Regions from separate parts of the Homo sapiens genome. Here region 1 is linked to region 2. The links are contacts of gene promoters, found by promoter capture Hi-C in blood cells and fetal thymus (Javierre and others, 2016). All regions are on one chromosome and are shown on one strand. Each heading gives the region's core, a stretch centred on a gene start or on the middle of the fragment in contact. The rest is flanking DNA. Distances are from core to core; before and after follow the strand shown. Region 1 overlaps CEP95 (centrosomal protein 95). Region 2 holds the start of STRADA (STE20 related adaptor alpha).

Region 1 (3,383 bases), core at 362-2,861, 770 kb after region 2:
CATCCTCCTCGGTTTACAAGATGACAGGATTAAGAGATTAAAGTGAAGACAGGCCTAGGAAATCACAAGGGTATTGATTGGGGAAGTGATAAGTGTCCATGAAATCTTTACAATTCATGTTCAGAGATTGCAGTAAAGACAGGCATAAGAAGTTATAAAAGTATTAATTTGGGGAACTAATAAATGTCCATGAAATCTTCACAATCCACGTTCTTCTGCCATGGCTTCAGCCGGTCCCTCTGTTTGGGGTCCCTGACTTCTCGCAACACCTGGCCGTATTGTTTTATTTTAAAGCATACTAATGCTACTTGTTTGTGATAGCTAAAAATTAGAAACACCTAAATGTCCATTAGTAGGGATTGGTTAGATAAATCATGATAGCTGCATACAGTGGACTGCTCTGTGGCTGTAAAAGATGACTGAATATGCTCTTTGTGCACAATGTTCCGTGTTGGGAACAATCTCTAGCATATGTGATGCGAGAAAAATGTAGTACAATTATAATGGTAATGTGCAGAGTAGTATGCTAGTGTTTGTAAAAACAAAGGTGTGCAGAAGTATTTGCAGTTGTTTGCAATCGGAAGAACTCTCTAGAAGCATATACAAGAAACTCGTAATACTGATTGCTTCCAACAAAGGGAACCTCAGGGTTGCAGGACAAAGGGACAAGAACTTTCAGTGTATACTTTTTGCACTTGCTGAATTTTGAACCATGTTATCTATTCAGAAGTTTTTTTCTGTAATTAAATCTCCAAAATAAAGTATACTATACTGTATTCTAAAACTAAGCATACCAAATATATTTATAAATCACTGTATTATGTGTATTTCATTTATGTTTAGAAATGAATGATTATTCCAGTAAGTTATTTCAAGCTTATGAATAGAGGGAATATTGACAATGTGAAACTATAATCACAAAAAGAGGATTTATACTGTTGATTTATTCTTTGATAGTTGTAAAAGGAGATAAATGTTAATCAGGATAAGTCCTGATTTACATCTCTTAATTTGATACTGACAAGAACAAATTTTTGCGAAGAGAATAAAATACTCTTCTGTCTTAAGTTTTTTAATGCAGTTCTAGGTGAGTGAATGGGTAAATCAGTTCGGAGATAATTTGAGGGCTACTCCCATAGTTTCCCTCTTTTTTTTGCAATTTGTAATTGCTTTATCACCCAAGTAGGACAAGTTCTGGTATTTGTGCTTGTTAAACATACTATAGCAGGGTTATAAACATACATGTTTGTAAAACTCTTTAATGCAGAGCTGTCTTTGACAGATTACACCCACCCTATGAAAAATTGTAAAACAGTTTCTCCTGCAGCATGAAGCACTGCATTCTGGCTGGCAGTCTTAGTTGCTAGGTTGTCAGTATACTCCCCATCCTAGAAACTGAAAAGTTTTGAGGATGCTCTTGGGATATACTTAGGTATTTTTAAGCCGGAAAAACACGTCCAAAACCAAGATTTCTGGTTCATTGTTTTAAACGAAAAAACTCAAACGTTGTCGTTACTAGTAGTAGTATAAAACGTCAAATTTCTGGTTTAGGTTTGTTTTGCATCATGGCTGAGGTTACGAATGGCTAGATTCTCCCAAATGTCAAATTTCTACACTGCTTTTCCCATATTGGTGTGAACTCATGAGAATGCCAGGCATGATCTCCCAAAGGACAATCAGAGTGTCACAAGGGTTAAGTACTATCTATACCTGAGGTTGATTTGGAGTCCATTTCAGGTGACATTAAATATGTCAAGTTTCCATGCTTTTTGCCAACCCATTTCTATTCAACATTTCAACCTAATCATTTATATTAAAAATCTGTTACGGAGTAGGTACTGTGCTAGGGACTGTGCTATGATCTATGAGTGTAAGTTATGAATATGAAGTGGATATGGTAAGAGATGTAGCTGGAGACGCTGAAGATGGAGTGAGATTTAAAAAGGTTTTATATGCAGGGCTTATATTTCAGAAAGGGAGCCAGGGAAAGGATTTTAATCAGAAAAATGGTATGATCTATACAAAATGAGGAGTTAACAAATATGGGGGGTTATGGTGGAGAATTCAGGAATTTCTGATGAAAGTATCCCAACAAGTTTATTGTTTTTTTTTGTTGTTTTGATGTTACTCTGCTGCTATAATCTTCTGAACAAACCACCATTTAGAATAGGATACCACAATCTGAAAGTGTTCTCTCCTGCCACTTTTTCCCACCAATCTGGTAAAGTTCTGTTTAGCTGCAATATATTTTGGTATAAATCTTACTAGACATGTTTTCTTAAGTCCAATTATTTTGCTTCTCCAAAAAAGGAAGGAATATGCCAGTGAATTATTAGACGCCATATTTAAAGCTTCCCCCTTTTTTTCTTCAAATATAATCAGGCAGCAGGAAATTGTTGTTCTTAATATTTATAATTGTTTCACCTGTATTCTTTTTTTTATTTAATCTCCAAGGAGCTGTAAGTTGGTATGTATCGCCTGTATTCTTAAATAGCATTTTCACAATGTTATATCCAAGTTTCAAGATTATGAAGCTTTCAGATTTCATGGTTAAATTTTTTAATAGCTCTATATTCTGTCTCCAGGAGAAAATATAGTGAAAGGAGATAAAGAATCTATTAAGAATCTCCTGGAAATATTTGATGGTTTGTTGGAGTATCTTACAGAACGCATCAGTGAAACATCTCATGAGAAAAGTAAGTTTAAGAATGGAAATTTGGTTTGGTTTACCTTTTATGATGTGTCCCTTTTGCCTTTTATCTTTTTGTGTATTTTTCTTCATAGGAAGCAGATTCACTAATACAGTATACCTGATAACCGTAGTTGTAAATTTCAAATTCTTATTGTTCCAGCTGGTTGGAAACTGTCTTAGACTGTCATCATGTTCTTTATCAACTTGGATGTTGCTCATAAATTACTTCAAAACTAATTTATACTAGAAAGATAAATTTCTGGCTAAATTATTTATTGTCCTATGATTGCATAAAATTTCTTTCTCCAAAATTTCGTGTGTCAGAACTGCTATTTATGGTAAATATTTGGATGTTACTGAGGCATCAACAGGAAGAATTGGTGCATTTGTGTCTTTAGCCTGCACTTACATTTGTGACAGCCTAAATATTTCAGATATTTGTCATTGCAAAAAGTGAAAGAACTTAACTGTCTTAATAATTTGAGATTAAGTAAATAATGCTGTTGGTCACGAATGGAATAATATATTACCTGTTCTTATGTTGAAAAGTTATCAAAAATAAACTTTCAGCAGCAACCACAATTTACATAAATTCGAATACAAATTAAGACAAAAAATTGGGGTAGGCTCATCCTCCATTCTCACTTTGTTTATAGTGAGACCTGTGATAGTCACATTTGAAATTAATCTT
Region 2 (3,503 bases), core at 425-2,924:
TATACACATACATATATATATATACACACACACACACACACACACACACACACACACACAACAAAGCAATATTACTAGTGGACAGACATAGAAATAGCTTTATTGGCCGGGCGCGGTGGCTCACGCCTGTAATCCCAGCACTTTGGGAGGTCGAGGCTGGTGGATCACCTGAGGTCAGGACCTCAGAGATCGGCCTGACCAACATGGTGAAACCCCGTCTCTACTGAAAATACAAAAATTAACCAGGTGTGGTGGGGGGTGCCTGTAATGCCAGCTACTCGGAAGGCTGAGGCAGGATAACTGCTTGTACCAAGGAGGCCGAGGTTGCAGTGAGCGGAGATCGCGCCATTGCATTCCAGCCTGGGGGACGAGGGCGAAACTCCATCTCAAAAAAATTAAAATAAAAATAAAGAGAGAAAATAATAAACCCAGCAAACATTTATGGCAAACTTCCTACGTGTCAGGCACTGTGCTAAATGCTTCATGAGCAGCTCACAAGTATTATCATCTCTGTTTTACGGATCAGGAAATTCAGGTGTGCAGGGAGGTTAAATGCCCAAAGTCACACAGATAAGTGGTAGGGGACTAATTAAATCTGTTCCAAAGCCTGCGCTCTAAAAACCAGAGTAAACTTCCTCCATTTCTGGGGCCACAACTATAAACACTGCATTCCAGCCAAAACACCTCTAAGAAATCTGATTAAAAAGTAGGGGACAGATTTGACCAGTTCAGCACTGTAACTAAAGGCTGAATTCACAGGCTTTTGGCAGGTGATCAAATTTGGTTTCTTCCTTAACTCTCAGGGACAAGAAACAGTCCTGGGTGTCTTCAGGAAGGTATGAGTGTCAATGAAGAATTGTCTTAACGTCGCATATACGTATTGGAACATGCTTCTACTTGAACAGATATTACAATAAGAAAAGGGCAAATTCCAACGGCTCTTTCTCCGGGAAAGTCAAGTTAAAGTATGTTAGGATACAGGAGAAGGCTGGGCAGAGAGGTTAGTTCCCTATTTCCTGAGAACTATGAACAATTTTACCTACCCACTGCCCCTCCCTCGAGCTCTCTTCCTTATCCCCAACCCCCATCTCCGGCGCCCAAATCCCCTGCAGGCACCCAAAAAACATTTCTGGAAAACAAAAAGACAATGAGCTCTTCGTTTAGGCCGATTCTGGGAGTCATCTGGATCTTGTGTCCTTACGAGGACTTGACCCGCTGCCTGTCAGCCCAAAGTGCGCGGCGGCTGGGGACAGCGGGGAGCCCAGGACCGGGGTCGGCCGCCACTCTGCCTGAACAGGACAAACCGGCACCCAGCCCTAGGTTCCCCACCTGGAAGTCCTAGGGGGTGGGGAGGAAGGGGAAAGCAGGAGCCCGCCTCTCTCGCCCGGCAACTCCGCTTCAGCGTCTCCCCGCCAGGCCCAAGCCTATTCTGCTCTCGGGCTGCGGCGCCTCATTGCGGGAGTCGAGGACGCGGGTTAAAAAGGGGGCCCGTGGAGGGTGAGGTGAGCCCAGGATGGCCGCTCCGACGAAGGCCCGGGCCTGGGGAGATGGAATCGGTGGCAGAGCCAGGAGGGACTGGCCCCGGCAGCGTACCAGGCACCCCGCCAGGCAGGTACCTGTTCCTGGAGTTAGCAAGCAGCCCCGACCGTCTTGGCTCCGCCTCCTCAGTTTTACTGCCGCGCCGCCGCCAGACCGGTTGCTGGGAGGGGAGTACGCAACGTGCCATGCGCAGTGGGGCGACCGGGAGGACTGATAGAGCGCTCCGCCCCACCCCGCCCTGCGGGGAAGTCCCGCCCTTTCCGAGTGGCCGCGGCTGCGGCAGGCCCTAGCAGCCGCCGCCGCGCCGAGAGCGGTTCTCAGTTCCCGTTGTCTTTCCCGCCGCGCAGCGCTTCCGCCTACAGCCTCCGCCCCCGCAGCAGGAGGGGGAAGCAGGTGGCTTCAACAATGAAGGACCAGAGAAAGGCAAACTTGGCTGTTCCTGAGAATTGTGTTTTTCTCATTTCATGTGGTAGGACTTCTAATGGAAAACCCGCCTCGCACTTTTCTTGGACGACATCTCAAATGCCCCTCACTTTGGCCTCTCGGGCACCAGACAACAAGCTGCAAAGGGGAAGCCCATCCTTTCTTTGCTCCCCACTATTTGTAAAACAAGGAAAATAGCTCAACTAATGAAAACGATCTTGTCCCCTCAGTATCTTTTTTTTTCCCCCGAAGCCTTCCTCATCCACAGCTGAAGCCGTTTGTGGAAACCTATCAGGTTTGTCCAAGCCAGGTTATGCAGAGCTTGAGAAATGAGGAAGCGATGAACTAAGCCTCACTCCTGTGAGACTAGGTTTTTCAGTGACTTATCCCCCGCGTGCGCAGGAGGGGGTATCCAAAACGCGGATATATACCATCAGGTAATGAACACTCGCTCTTGCCAGCTCTGAGCTTTGACACAGATTTAGACCGTCCTAACTTCCAAGACTGGGGGAGGAGTTTAGCTACATCCAAGTAGGGACTTATAGAAATATGCCCCTGGAAGGCCGGGCGCGGTGGCTCACGCCTGTAATCCCAGCACTTTGGGAGGCCGACGCGGGTGGTTCACTAGGTCAGGAGATCGAGACCATCCTGGTTAATACGGCGAAACCCCGTCTCTACTAAAAGTACAAAAAAATTAGCCGGGCGTGGTGACAGGCGCCCGTAATCCCAGCTACTATGGAGGCTGAGGCAGCAGAATGGCCTGAACCCGGGAGGCGGAGCTTGCAGTGTGCAGAGATCGCGTCACTGCACTTCCAGCCTGGGCGACAGAGCGAGACTCCGTCTCAAAAAAAAAAAAAAAAAAAAAGAAAAAAAGAAATATGCCCCTGAAACTGTGGGACCTGTATGCACATGAGTTCTCATTTGATCTTACATACATCACTTTGATTTTTTTTTTTTTTTTTTTTGAGATGGAGTCTTGCTCTGTTGCCCAGGCTGGAATGCAGTGACGTGATCTGGGCTCACTGCAACCTCTGCCTCCTGGGCTCAAGCAATTCTCCTGACTCAGCCTCCCAAGTCGCTGGGACTACAGGCGCACGCCACAACGCCTGGCTGATTTTTGTATTTTTAGTAGAGACGAGGTTTCACCATATTGGTCAGGCTGGTCTTAAAATCCTGACCTCAGGTGATCCACCAGCCTCGGCCTCCCAAAGTGCTGGGATTACAGGTGTGAGCCATCTGTGCTGGGCCACATCATTTTGATTTTATCGAGTGCTTTGACATTGCTAAGGGCTACCCTCACATGCTCTCATTCTCAAAATAAGATGCCACTCTCAGGAGCAAACTTGGTAAACTCACAAAGCAACAGAGTATAAACAGAGAAGTAAAATTTCTAGCAGTGTTCTACTGAAGGGTCTTTCACATGTGGTCTTTTGGAACCGAGTATTAGAGAGACTGTCTGAAAAGATGCTAAACTTCTTGCAGCCATTACAAATGGGTAGAGAAAACATATTGTCTCAGAACTGTTCTGTTTTAGCAGTCTG

Evidence for each region. Contacts are between HindIII fragments. The CHiCAGO score rates a contact against its expected background, and 5 or more counts as called.
Region 1: a contact is called between a fragment that was not itself captured here and the fragment with the promoter of STRADA in region 2, in 1 of 17 cell types (monocytes). The highest score is 6.8, in monocytes.

Annotation. Positions count from the first base shown.
Region 1 is chr17:64,511,663-64,515,045 of GRCh38, forward strand. It overlaps CEP95 (centrosomal protein 95), which reads left to right. Exons shown (of 20, transcript NM_138363.3): 4 at 2,586-2,696. Among named protein-coding and RNA genes, the nearest start is that of CEP95, 6.4 kb to the left of the region's middle. The HindIII fragment of the contact is 1,475 bases long and covers 875-2,349 here.
Region 2 is chr17:63,740,125-63,743,627 of GRCh38, forward strand. It overlaps STRADA (STE20 related adaptor alpha), which reads right to left and starts at 1,675. Exons shown (of 13, transcript NM_001003787.4): 1 at 1,617-1,675. RefSeq lists an enhancer at 1-300 and silencers at 166-334, 1,838-1,957. The HindIII fragment of the contact is 6,891 bases long and covers 1-3,503 here.